4 separate regions of the Homo sapiens genome follow, and all the other regions are linked to region 1. The links are contacts of gene promoters, found by promoter capture Hi-C in blood cells and fetal thymus (Javierre and others, 2016). All regions are on one chromosome and are shown on one strand. The core of a region is centred on a gene start or on the middle of the fragment in contact, and the rest is flanking DNA. Distances in the headings are between cores, read along the strand shown. Region 1 holds the start of SOD3 (superoxide dismutase 3). Region 2 overlaps DHX15 (DEAH-box helicase 15). Region 3 has its middle 17 kb from the start of DHX15. Region 4 overlaps DHX15 (DEAH-box helicase 15).

Region 1 (3,233 bases), core at 251-2,750:
AGAAGCAGAGAAAGTGATGTTGAAGGACTCACCTAAATGACATGGCCCAATGTGGTACTACTACCCCAAAGCCCCAGGGAGTAGGCAGGAAAGTGGGGTAACTCTCCTGCCAGACCTGGACATGAAGTTCCCCATCATCAAAGACACCTTCCTCCTAAGACAGCCCTGCCACTCAGAAGGGCTCTGCTGCTTAGAAAGTTCTCCCTAAAAGCACAGAGCAAAACCAGATTGTTTTGGGTGTGTCAGTGAGCTTTCTTTTTCAAGAATCCTTGGGAAATAAACATTTTAAGGAGATGTTTTTCTCTGAAACCAAAAGAAGAGCCAGGCATGGTGGCTTATGCCTGTAATCCCACCCCTTTGGGAGGATGAGACAGGAGAATCATTTGAGTACAAGAGTATGAGACCAACCTGGTAGAGACCCCCATCTCTAGCAAAAAAAAAAAAAAAAAATAGCTGGGTGTGGTGGCATGTGCCTGTAGTCCCAGTTACTCAGGAGGTTGAGGTAGGAGGATCGCTTGAGCCCGGGAGGTAGAGGCTGTAGTGAGCCGTGATAGTGATCGTGCCACTACATTCCAGCCTGGGTGCTGGGTGACAGAATGAGACCATGTCTCAAAAAAAAAAAAAAAAAAAAAAAAAAGAGAAGAAGGAGGAGGAGGAGGAAAAGGGGGAAAGAAAATTCTCCCTCAAACCCAGGTAAACTCTGACTTCTTGTTTCTTAAGCCTTTGACACCTCTTCCCCTCGGGACCAACTTGATTCTTCTCCCACAGCCTCTTGCTCAGTTTGAGCTGTGAATGACCAAGTGCCTTTTTAAGGGCCTCCTTTGTACGTGGATCTGGAAGGGAGGACGGTGTTATCAGAGAAAGAGGACAGTGTTATCAGAGAAAGAGGACAGGGGCCCTTATCCTGAACCAAATAGAGGCACCAAGCCTTTATCTCCTTCCTGGGTCTGTATCTGGGAAGAACCTGCCCCTCTTGAGCCTTGGGTGTGTTTCATCCCTCAGCTGTCTCCTAGAAGGAGCTCTTGCTGGGAGCCTGAGCTGGCCAGGGCCTCTCTGCTTTCCTAAGGAGGTGGCTTTTTAGAGTACCTGCTGTCCCATAAGTGGCTCCCGACACCAAAGCCATGCAACATCTAGAAAGGCCCCCTTTCTCGTCACTCCAGATTCCTTTTCCTAACACTAAAATCCTCTTGGACTGGTCTTTGCAGATCCACAGGAGGAACGGTTTCTTCCTCCCCTCCTTGCCTTCCTCCCCGCTCACTCCACCTCCCCACTAACCCCTCAGAGCAGCCAGGGAAAGTACATTTCCTTCCCAAGAAGATGATCCAATTTGTTCCCAAGAAGAGGCCCGTTGCCCCAACCCAGCTTCAGACTCAATAAGCACACTCCGAGAAGAACAAAATGAACCTCAACTTAGCACCCACCTTTCCAGCTCCTCCAAGAGAGCTTTCTCTCCTGAAAAGAGAGCTGCACCCAGCCAGCCCAGGAACGCAGGCTGTCCCTGGAGCCTGGGCTGTTAGCGCGAGTGCAGGAGGCCAGCCCAGAGGAGTGGTCAGCGTGAGGGAGCCAGTCATTGGGCCAGTTCAGGGAGGAAAAGCAGGCCAGACCTCCCCGGGTTGTAGAATTGCTTCGCCTCCACCTCCTCCCGCTCTGTCCCCACCTCCTCTGCCCCTCCCATTTTTGGGTTTTCGGGCCAAGGATTCCATTCCGCGACTTCACCGGCTTGTAGCCAGTGACCTTCAGCACACAGCAGGGGAATAAAAATGAGAAAGAAAATCGCCTGTTTGGAGAGGTGTACAATGACCTCTTTATTGAGAGGCCCTTTGCTTTTCTGTAAGTCAATAACTTATTGACTTATTTTTGCTGCATGGAAATGGGCACCTTGCAAATGTGCGTGGCATTTGCTCCAGAGCTGTGCTGTCATACCTATGAGAGCAGAGCAGCGGGTGGGTCGTGATGACACACTCAGGCTGCAGAGTCCCAGCCTTGTCACTTCCTATCTGTGTACGCCTGAAGCAGCTGCACCACTCCCTGCACCTCCTTTTCATCATCTGTAAAATGGGGGTGTGAGGCTGTCCACCCCGCACGCCCACCGTGAAGATCCAATGAGATCATTACTCGCCCAGTGACAACACAGTGGCTGGCACTAGCCGCACTCATAAGTAATCATCATTGTCATTGTCGTTACCGTTATTATTAAAGAGATGAAGGAGTCTTTTTAAAAAATGTGTTGTCTGGGAGAACTAGGAGTGTTTCCCTCCCGACGTCTGTCCTTTTTTTGCTGCCATGAACTTTTCTCAATCATAGCAGCCCTTTCCAAAAATAGAAGCTCTTCTTTCCCAGAAAAGCCCATGTGGGAAAAACCAGGCAGCCTGCTTGCTGGCCTGCCCGTCCTCCTGCATTCCTGCAACAAATGTTTATTGGGTGCTCATCCATTCCAGTCACCATGCTGTATGCCGGGCACCCACAGCTGCATGAGTCACCTTGGGGGTTCATACTCTGGGGACGGAGACAACAACGTCAGTAAATGCATCCAGTACAGAGTGGGGAGCGCAGCGACGAAGAATGAACAGGGCCTCGTGAGGTCCCAAACACCCGTTTCGGTGGCAGGAAAGCTTATAAAAAATCTAAATCTCTGGATCCCACCCCAGGATGGGTGACTTAGTTACCAGCAGGAGCTTCCTAGAATCATCTTGGAAAAACTCAAACTAATGATCTTTATCCAGGGACAGGCATTCTGCGAGATAAGAGGGAGACTTCCCAGAACTGAGACTCCAGCCCTTCCACCCTACCGTCCTTCCTTCTGGCCCGCTGAGAACTCAGGCACCAGTAGCTCAGTCTTGCACCTCTGCATTCTGTTGGTAGGCGTAGTTATCCTCAACTAATGAGTTTTCAGAGTTCCCCATGCCACCCACCACCCCACCCCCACCCTGCAACAGTCTAGTTCCTTATTGTGAATCTTTCTTCCCATTTTTAAAACATTTATATTTTCATTCAGTTCTTGAAATCCTAATTATATACATTCATAGCTACTATTTTAAATGGCACTTGCTTCACTTGGCCTAATTTTATTTCGTTTAAGGTCCAAGAAAGCACGTCTCCGTTCTGGTATTCTAGGACTTGTGCTAAAGCCTAGATTTACTTTCATTTTGATGGCATTCTAGAGGAAATCTGCCTTTTTCTCGCCACCGCCCCCAACCTCCCCACCATGGCAACATTCATTCCCTCTTCCTTTG
Region 2 (3,577 bases), core at 711-3,210, 230 kb after region 1:
CCTGTAGTCCCAGCTACTTGGGAGGCTGAAGTAGGAGAATCGCTTGAACCTTGGTGGTTACAGTGAGCCAAGATTATGCCACTGCACTCCAGCCTGGTCAACAGAGTGAGATTCCATCTCAAAAAACAAACAAAAAAACAAAAGATCTGAACATTCTTGCCTTGAGAATTTTGAATTAATTTTAAATATCTTTGGTTCACCAGTGAGTGAATTTCACTTTCTAGATCTTTGAAAGTACATTTTGCCTTTGTAAAAGGGTTGCCGAATTGAGGATATATCAGTAAGTAAGGCTTTATAGCCTGACTAGAAAACCACTTAAACCTAGGTCTGTGGATTTACAGAACCCGATAGATACTACTTCTTTAGTTATTTTTGTTCATTTAAAGTGTTTTAAAGATATATATGATTTTAGAGAATCAGCATAATTACCCTCCCTTTCAGATATTTGTTAGTGACAAGTTACCCCCAATTGCAGAAGCAACCTAACTAAAATGTAATAATAGTGCAGCCACCAATATTCCTTATCAGTTTTACTGTACTGATACTGTGCAGAAAACTCCATGTTTCCTGTAGCATTAGAGTTTGATAGGCGTTTGGAAGCTTTGATGTAAACCAGTTATGCTCTTCTAGCAGTGGATTTCCATATAATATGGTGAGCACTTACATTTTTCCCATGGTTCTTTTCCAGTTAAGTGACTGGAAAACTGTAAAATTGGGGAATCCATTAGCTTATATTGATAATGGAACTGGGGGAAAATGTACTGCCGTCATGGCAACCAATTTAACTTGTGCTTGGGGGTCCCCCAACCCTTTGGCTGCCCTTAACGAAGTGGTGCTGCTCTAGGTCCTGTTAAATTTGAGACTGGCAGTTCTTAAAATTGATTTTAAGATGGTACCTAAGGTGCTACCATTGTGCATACTGCTCCTGAGGGGGAAAGGATAGGATTACAAAAGAGTTGGGTGCTAAGAGTTAGGTTCTGCTGGCTTATAAACCAAATTTGAATTGAATTAAATAAAAGTACAGCTTCAGAGTTACAAGGGGGTATGATTTCCACTTGATTTTGCAACTCAAATTATGTAAGAATTTAAAAGTTACACTTTCTTAGAAACGTTTGTTATAAAGTAGAATTTGTTGTAAGTTGGATTTTTTAAAATTGCATAGAGAAATACTTCATGATGGGATAGTCACACTGTCGAGTGTATTCCTGATTGTGTCTACCCAACTTGGGTGTGTGTCATATCAGTATTACACATAACTGTTCCTTGGTTTAGAGAGCTTGTGTTGTTACAAGTTTTGAATCACAAGTCTTATAGTCATTTGCCTAATTGGATTTGGTTTTAAATCATTAGAATGAGATAAAGTGCTTTATGTTACATATACTTGATATGCAGGCAGAATAGAATTAATTTAAATGTGAAATTATTTGATAGATTCCACAGTGGTGTGTGGAGTACATGCGATCATTACCAGGACCCAAGAGAGGAGTTGCCTGTACCCAACCCAGGAGAGTGGCTGCAATGAGTGTGGCTCAGAGAGTTGCTGATGAGATGGATGTGATGTTGGGCCAGGAAGTTGGTTACTCCATTCGATTTGAAGACTGCAGTAGTGCAAAAACCATTCTTAAGTAAGTACTATATCTTTAATGACGCTTTTAGTCCTCTGCTTGCCATTTTCTGCTATTAGATAGAAGACTTTGCTAGTGCAGGCTTATGTCATCCAAATTTAGAATTATCCAAAGTAGGCCTTCTTAGACTTACCACATGACCTTAGTTTAATTATATATTATTGGTAATCTATAGTTACTTGGTAGAAATTGAAGTTCAAAGGTCAGATTTTAGTTACTTGGTTCTGCATTTTAGGTGAAATGTTACTGATACTGTAAAATGTGTGGTTTTAGTAGACACAATGGTGTATGACTTAATTGTGAAAGAAAAGGAAAGTGATATGTCTTACTTAGTAAAAGATAACTACTTTTAGAAAGAAGAATGTATAGGATGGGATGTGATTTATTTAGGGGAGAGGGGACTTTTAATGTTAATTATGCAGCTATTACCGTGCATCTGTTATAAGCTAAAAAGAGGAATCTTTTGTTCTGTAATACACTGTTAGAGCTGCCTCTAGGTCCTTGTTCCTCTATAGCTATGGTGCAGATAATTGACTACTGTATTGAGCTTTCTAATGTTTTAACTCTACCAACTTTTTATTGTCTTATACTTGCATTCTGCATAAGTTATGATGTATGCTACCTGATGATGATTCTTTCTCAAGTCTTCCCTCTGGTTGCTTCTGCTTATTCTGTATTTATGTGATATTTAAGTCCTTTTAAATGTGACTTGTTTGAGTGGGGCTCAGTGGCATATGCCTGTTTATTCCCAGCCACTTCGTAGGCTGAAGCAGGATTATTGCTTGAGGCCAGGAGTTCAAGGCTACAGTGTGCTCTGATCATGCCTGTGATAGCTACTGCATTTGAACCTGAGCAACATAGCAAGACCACATTTCTTTTAAAAAAAAAGAAAAATCATATCTATGTGATCTTCTCCCTGAGGTTTTTAAAAACCATTTTGGAGCGTTGTGTAGGCAGTGATATGAGTCTTTGTTGTCAGAGTCTTTGTTGTCAGAGAGATATATAGTGTTAATGGGATAAATGAAACAAGAGTCTCTCTTTTTTTTTTTTTTTTTTTTTTTTGAGATGGAGTCTCACTCTGTTGCCCAGGCTGGAGTGCAGTGGCGCCATCTCGGCTCTCTGCAACCTCCGCCTCCCGGGTTCAAGCGATTCTCCTGCCTCAGCCTCTCAGGTAGCTGGGACTATAGGTGTGCGCCACCATGCCTGGCTAACTTTTTGTATCTTTAGTAGAGTTGTGGTTTCACTATGTTGGCCAGGCTGGTCTCTAACTCCTGACCTCATGATCCGCCCGCCTCAGCCTCCCACAGTGCTGGGATTACAGGCGTGAGCCACTACACCCAGCCGCAGAAATTGAATAGAATAATGAACTGCATGTGTTTATCATCGACTTTTAACTATTTCAGTCTTATTTATTTCATATCCAATCTTAATTTATTTCCCTGTCCCATGTTATTTCGAAGCAGTCTTAGATACCAAATAATTATATATATAAATATTTCAGTGTGTATCTCTGAGATAGTTTCTTAAAATAGAGCTATCATAACTTAAAACAATTTATTGGATCAAAATATCCAGTTTTCATTCAACATTTGTGTCAGTTTTTTCTAATTCTTTGATTTATCTCATTTTATTAGAACTTTTTATTCAGCGTGATATTTAATAGCAGTTGAACTTTAAAATATTTAAATAAGCTTATCCTTATGACTTTATGGGACATATTTTTGGCTTAAACCTTAATCTTCACTGAATAAATTCTTGTAGTTGTTCAGTGATACGTTATTGATCACTGGTAATTACAGTATAATTGACAATAATTGCATAAGCAAAATCATAGCTCATTATGTTGTATTACTTTAAAATGCAGGTAATGTCAAGGACTTGAGGATAATAAGGGGGAGATTTTACTCATCTTTAGGAGGAATATCATTATTCTGACTTGATTCACATTGCAT
Region 3 (3,294 bases), core at 341-2,840, 190 kb after region 1:
GAAGACTGTGGTCTCCATGCTGAGTATAGTCTGCAATTTATTCCAAGTGCCTTGTTTACCTGGAACAACTGCAGGCTCTTGTAAGGGCAATCAGTTCTGCCTTCTGTGCAGAGGTTCCTAGTGGTAAAGTCCTGGCTTCTGTGACCTCTGAAAACGTTACCATTACATATATAGCATTTCTTTTTCTGTCGGTTACCAGGCTGCTCCCATCCATGAACAATGTCCAGTATGCATATGGCAGGGCTGTGTCCTTTAAATTAGGGTGACTGGAAAACACCTTAGTCAATAATTGGTAAACATTATGCATAAGTTCTTTTGGCTCTTCGGTAGAGGGAAGTAAAGTAGCTGGGTTCAAGGCTCTGGTAACCTGCACTTTTACTGTGGGTTCATCTAGGAGTGTGGCCTGGTATTTGCTCAATCTGCCCACTGTCAGCCAGTAGCCTCCCTTTTGTTCTAGTAACACTAGTACTTGGTGAGGCACGTAGACAGTAACAGGCTGTCCCAAAGTCAACTTTTCAGCCTCCTTTAATAGTAGGCAGGTGGCAGTGACCGCCCTTGAACAGGAGACAGCCTTTGGCCACATTATCCAGTTGTTTAGGAAAGTAAGCCTAGTGGCTGCAAGATTTCTCCTAATTTCTGTGTTAAGGATCCCCAGTGCTAGACCCAGTCTCTCATGCATGTACAATTGAAAAGGCTTATGAGGATTTGGGAGCCCCAGGAATAGGGTGGAGGTTAACTTACATTTCAGTTGTCCAAATGAGTGCTGGTGTTTTGCTCCCAATCGAAGGCATCATTGTTAGGTCCCTTAACAGACTGTATAGCGGCTTCATTGGTAGTTCATAGTTAGGAATCCAGATCTAACAAAACCCTGCCTTGCCTAGAAATCCTCTCAACTACCTTCTGGTAGTGGGTGCTGCAATGGAAGCGATTGCATTTTGTCTTTCCACTATTAGAGCTCTAGCTCCCTCCTGCAAGAGAAAATCTAAGTATGCCACAGTTTGTTGGCATATCTAAGCTTTTTTACTTGAAACCTTATACCCACGGGTGGCTAGGTGGTTAAGAGTTTTAATGGTGTTATTCTGACATTCCCATTCAGAGAGGCTAGGTATTAGTAAATCACCCACATATTGTAACAATACCCCATTTTCCAATTTTAAACTCTTTAAATTTCAAGCCAAGGCTTCCCCAAATATATGTGGAGAGTTTTTAAATCCTAGTGGGAGTGCAGTCCAATGATACTGAAACCACGTTGCGGCTTCAAGATCTATCCATTCAAAGGCAAACAACAGTTGACTTTCTGTGTCTATGGGTATGCAAAAGAAAGCATCTTTTAAATCCAATACTGTCAGCCATTTATAATCTCCAGGAAGAGAAATGAACTTAGTATATGGGTTAGCTACAGTGGGATGTATGTCCTCTACAATATCCCAATTAGGGTCCCTGTGGGGAATTGCCGCCCCCGGATCTGTGTTGTCTGAATTTTCATGATGAAGTCATTGCGCCTCTTCCTTCACTTTATTGAAAACCAGCTGCCGCTCATCTGCAGTGAGCATAATGCTTAGGAGAGCCTGCACATCTGCCCAGGTGGGCACTGTGTAGCAAATACAGTGGTATTATAGGCCCAATAATGTTGGCTGGAGCTCCTTGCTAATTGACTCCTACTGAATATTGTTACAGTGGGAACTTCCCTGCTCCAGACTCAGTGACTCCCTGGCCAAAATTAGTACCTTGCCTAGTCCTAGAGGGAGACAGTAGCCCTGCTGCCTTCCTGTACTCTATGGGTAGCATTCCCTCTCTTTCCTGAGCTGCGGCAGTAGCCACTATGGGGTTTAGGGTATTCATTAACTATTCATTAAATTGGGTTTCAAAGGCTTTCTCTTCCTCCCCTTGTGAGTCAGGACAGACTTGGCAGTGCATTGCCAAGTTAGCTTATTTCCTTTTTCCTTAGCAACATTAATGCCCAGATGTAAGGTATTTCACCTCATTTACCTGACCTCTGGTAGAACAATTCTAATTGATAAATGGTATGAAAATTTAAAGATCCAAAAACTGGCTACCATTTCTCAGACCCCAAAACATACATTGGCCAAGATGTGTTACAACAGAAGATTAACTCTTCTTGTCATTAGCAGATAACCAACGTGCTTCCAATCTGACAAAGCTTTTCCCAGAGGACTATTTGTAGGGATAGATGCCCTGTTGCCCATACTGACTACTCTAAACTTAATATCAGACCAACAGAACAAATGAATTTTCACAAACAAATGCAAATAGGTCCTCTAACTTTGTAAAGTGGGTGTATTAATCAGGGTTCTCTAGAGGGACAGAACTCATGGAATATATAAACGGGAGTTTATTAAGTATTAACTCACACGATCACAAGATCCCACAATAGGCCGTCTGCAGGCTGAGGAGCAAGGAGAGCCAGTCCGAGTTCCAAAACTGAAGAACTTAAAGTCCAATGTTCAAGGGCAGGAAGGATCCAGCACAGGACAAAGATGTAGGCTGGGAGGCTAGGCCAGTTTCTCTTTTCACTTTTTTCTGCCTGCTTGTATTCTAGCCACGCTGGCAGCTGTTTAGATTGTGCCCACCCAGATTAAGGGTGGGTCTGCCTTTCCCAGCCCACTGACTCAAATGCTAATCTCCTTTGGCAACATCCTCATAGACACACACAGAATCAATACTTTGTATCGTTCAATCCAATCAAGTTGATACTCAGTATTAACCGTGACCGGGTATACAAAGGAGTCCTATTGTTTCCTCAACAGTACTGAAAAAAATGGCTACATGAGCTCTAATAGAGAAAACAATAGACCCCCAGCTTTCCATCAGGTTTTACTTAACCCTTTGAGCAGCTCCATTCCCAGCCTCTGTTGTTCCCCAGTAATAGAGAGACAGGGGGTCTTTGCATCCGGGAAGGTCCTTGGGAGACTCCCCAGGACAAACCGTACCTGGCAGCTGTTGGGAGTCTCCCGATGACTGTCGACTTAGAAGCCACTGGCCACTGAGCACAGATCCATCCCTGAGGAGTCACCAGAATTGTTCCTGGACAGAACAAGGTCTGGCTGCTCATTTCTGTGATCCAATAACAAGATGCAGACAGACTGGGAAAGAAGGGAGTTTATTTCTGCAACCGGTTACAGAGAGAAGGTCGAAGTAACTCACCATACCAACTCAAAGTTACAAGTTTTTTGCTAGTGCTGACATACATTTTAAGCTCCATGCTACATGTAGAATTGCATCTACAAGCAGGAGTGTTTCATTCACTCTATATCTAATCTTTAACTAGGGTCT
Region 4 (3,501 bases), core at 148-2,647, 240 kb after region 1:
CACTATGTTGGCCAGGCTAGTCTCGAACTCCTGACCTCAGGTGATCTGCCCTTCTCGGGTTCCCAAAGTGCTGGGATTATAGGCGCGAGCCACCACACCTGGCCCCAAAATGCTTTTTTGATGGCATATAAACAGCATTTGTGCTGTAATGTAGTATTGAGGCTGTTGGGATAATCGTTTTGTCCTCTTGTGTCTGGTCTCTAGTTTCTCATTTCCTCCAAAGTGCATAGTATATTTTTATTTTTATTTATTTTGTTTTATTATTTATTTATTTGAGATGGAGTTTTGCTCTTGTTGCCCAGGCTGGAGTGCAGTGGCGCGATCTCGGCTCACCGCAACCTCTGCCTCCCAGGTTCAGGTGATTCTCCTGCCTCAGCCTTCCGAGTAGCTGGGATTACAGGCATGCGCCACCATGCCCAACTAATTGGTATTTTTGGTAGAGATGGGGTTTCTCCGTGTTGGTCAGGCTGGTCTTGAACTCCCAACTTCAGGTGATCCACCCGCCTCGGCCTCCCAAAGTGCTGGGATTACAGGCGTGAGCCACTGCACCTGGCCATATTTTTATTTTTTAAATCACTATTTAAAATTGTCATCATTCTCAGATAACATAAGCGTATTGAGATTCTATCAGAAATATCAAATGGCCTCATGGTTAAGGACCCGAAAGGTTTTTCTCTGAGACAACTTTGTGCGGTATTTTCTGTGAATCCCACAGCTGGGGAAAGGAAGGGAGTAAGCCGAAGGGTTTTCAGATGTATGCTAGAGTGTCTTTCATGAAATAAAATGCTGCTCTAGTTGTCAGCTGTTTTTTTGCATACCATTGCTTCTTTAAGTTATCTTTAGATTCCCAGTCTTGAATTTGAAGAGTTTTGGGGAGAAGGTAGCAGAAAACCTAACGTTTTGTTTACATTTCATTTGTTGTATTTAGTAGTAGAGCTGGTCTAAAGTAAATATTACCTTCTCATTTTTGTGAACCTTCATTATTTTTACTTGGTAAGTTAAATGCAACTGCGAAATCAGTACTCCTTTCTTCATAAATTTGAATAGCCTCCATGAAATTGAGTAATCTCATAAAAATTTAAAACTGGTTTTTAAGAACATATTCTGACCACTAAATAAAAGTGCTTCTGTAGTCACATGAGTTAATTTGGGAGGGAGAGAGAACAGTTTAAAGTGTTGCCTAGATAGTAATTAGATAAGAGTGATTGTAATTAAATAATTTTATTTTTAATTTTGCTTAGTAAATTTTTTTTTCAACATGCAGTGAGTTAATTGGTAAGGTCCAGATTAATTTACTAACATATTGCTGCTTTTGGAGTTAAAAATCTTTTCTCAAATCAAAAACTCCTGAACTGTCTGTCTTTATTCTCAGTATTGCTAATGACTAAGCAGATGGCTGCTGTTGAAACTTCTTTTCCTCCACTACCTGTTTCTGTTTATATTCTGATGAATGCAGATAAGTTTTGTGGCATTCTCAGCTGATAGTGTTGACTTCTTGGAAGTTTGGCAAACCTCAGGGAAAATTTTTATTGCAAGTTTTAAAGCTGTTTAGGACTTTATCTAAAAACTTAAGTGTTACGGGATTTCTTCCACATTTTAGAGATGCCTTTATATCCTACATAGTCATCATTTTGTTTTAGCTCCTTGCATACTTAGCAGATTGGGTAGTCTAATCTCCAGTAAAGTTGGAATTGTCATTTTAAAATACTGGAATCACAAAGCAAATGTCTAATTTAAGCACTTAATTTTTAATGTGTGAAATCTGGATATTTTGTGATTTCTGAGCATTTATTTTTCATTTATGTACAGTAAAATTAACAAAATTGCAGATACTCTTAAATGTTGGAATCCTAGTTTTATATTATGTTCAAATGTTTTTTAAGTTGGAGAGCTCTTAATTTTTTATTTGCATGCCAGCAGGGGGCATTCTAATCTAGATACAACATTTGAAAGCAGTATTTTCAAAAAATATTTGTTCGCTTTGTTATATTTTTTATTTAGATGAATAGCATCTACTTTCATTTTCTTTTAGAAACTTGAGATTTCAAAGGAGGATCTAGTAACATTGAATCTTTAATAGTTTTCTGTGTCACAATTTTTGAGACAGATAACCTTTAAAAAAAACTGATGTGTTTGAAATAAGTGAAAAGTAATTTATTTGTTCTTACTGTGTTTAAGAACGTTGTGTTTTTTGATATAGAGACACAGTTGGACATTAAAAAAATATAAAGTAAATGTCCTAAAATTCTTCCTCACCGTTTAGTATCATTGTCCTTTGAAAAAAACACGCACTTTGTTGACAAGGGTAGCTTCTGATTGGGTCATTTATTGGACAGGCTGCCTAGTGTATAATAAGCGTTTTACATACTTCTGGGTTTAATTGAATTAATACTTCAATAAAATTTAGAATACATTTGTCCGCAGTGCTGCCTTCCATTTTTAAGTTCCTTTGCCTCTCCCAGAGCTATCATACATAATCTGTCTCTCTCTTTTTTTCCGTCTTGATATTCATTATGTCTCCTCTTGAATGCACATGTGTTAGAATATAGTCATGTGCCACATAACAACGTTTTGGTCAAGACAAACTTCTCAGATAGCTGTGGTGCTGCTCCCGTAAGATTATAGTGGAGCTGAACGTAACCTTGCAGCATCACAGCACAACACATTACTCACTGCTTTGTGATGATGCTAGTTCAAACAAACCTACTTTGCTGCCAGTTGTTTTAAAAGTACTATATAGTATGTACAATTATGTCCAGTACATAATAATAATGATAATAGGACATTGTTAGTGGTTTTTGTATTTACTATACTACATGTTTTATCATTATTTTAGAGTGTTCTCCTTCGACTTAAAAATGTTAACTGTAAAACAGGCTTAGGCAGGTCCTTCAGGAGGTGTTCTAGGAGAAGGCATTGTTATCACAGGAGATGACAGCTCCATGTGTGTTACTGGCCTTTGGAGACCTTCCAGTGGGTTAATACGTTAAGGTGGAAGATAGTGATATTGATGATCCTGACCCTGTGGGGGCCTAGGTTAAGTGTGTGTTTGTGTCTTTTAACCAAAAAGTTTAATAAGTTGAAAAAGTAAAAAATTTTAAATTGGAATGAAGCTTATAGAATAAGGATATAAAGAGAAAATACTTTTGCACAGCCATACGGTGTGTTTGTGTTTTAAGCTAAGTGTTACTACACAAGAGTCAGAGTTAAAATTTAGAAGTTTATAAAGTTAAAAAGTTGTAGTAAGCTAAGGTTAATTTAATGAAGAAAGAAAAATATATCAAAAAAAAGAAAATACATTTTTTTATAAATTTTGTATCGCCAAAATGTACAGTGTTTATGAAGTCTACAGTTCTGTACAGAATGTCCTAGGCCATCACATTCACTAAGTACTCACTCACTCACAGCAACTTTCAGTCCTGCAGACTTCTTTCATGGCAGATGCCCTATATGAGTGTACTGATTTTTACCGTTTTTTTTTTTTTTTTTTTTTTTTTTTTT

Evidence for each region. The method cuts DNA at HindIII sites, captures the fragments that hold promoters and counts their contacts. A CHiCAGO score of 5 or more calls a contact.
Region 2: a fragment that was not itself captured here is called in contact with the fragment with the promoter of SOD3 in region 1 in 2 of 17 cell types (M2 macrophages and M1 macrophages); the score reaches 6.1 in M2 macrophages.
Region 3: a contact is called between a fragment that was not itself captured here and the fragment with the promoter of SOD3 in region 1, in 1 of 17 cell types (M1 macrophages). The highest score is 5.4, in M1 macrophages.
Region 4: a contact is called between a fragment that was not itself captured here and the fragment with the promoter of SOD3 in region 1, in 1 of 17 cell types (M2 macrophages). The highest score is 5.2, in M2 macrophages.

What each region holds. Positions count from the first base shown.
Region 1 is chr4:24,793,840-24,797,072 of GRCh38, reverse strand. It overlaps SOD3 (superoxide dismutase 3), which reads right to left and starts at 1,500. Exons shown (of 2, transcript NM_003102.4): 1 at 1,422-1,500. The HindIII fragment of the contact is 8,707 bases long and covers 1-2,614 here.
Region 2 is chr4:24,568,702-24,572,278 of GRCh38, reverse strand. DHX15 (DEAH-box helicase 15) reads left to right here. Exons shown (of 14, transcript NM_001358.3): 3 at 1,432-1,625. Among named protein-coding and RNA genes, the nearest start is that of DHX15, 14 kb to the left of the region's middle. The HindIII fragment of the contact is 2,716 bases long and covers 603-3,318 here.
Region 3 is chr4:24,599,890-24,603,183 of GRCh38, reverse strand. No RefSeq gene overlaps it. Among named protein-coding and RNA genes, the nearest start is that of DHX15, 17 kb to the right of the region's middle. The HindIII fragment of the contact is 1,146 bases long and covers 1,018-2,163 here.
Region 4 is chr4:24,550,095-24,553,595 of GRCh38, reverse strand. The region is part of intron 5 of DHX15 (DEAH-box helicase 15); the gene reads left to right. Among named protein-coding and RNA genes, the nearest start is that of MIR573, 32 kb to the right of the region's middle. RefSeq lists an enhancer at 1-406. The HindIII fragment of the contact is 3,436 bases long and covers 1-3,115 here.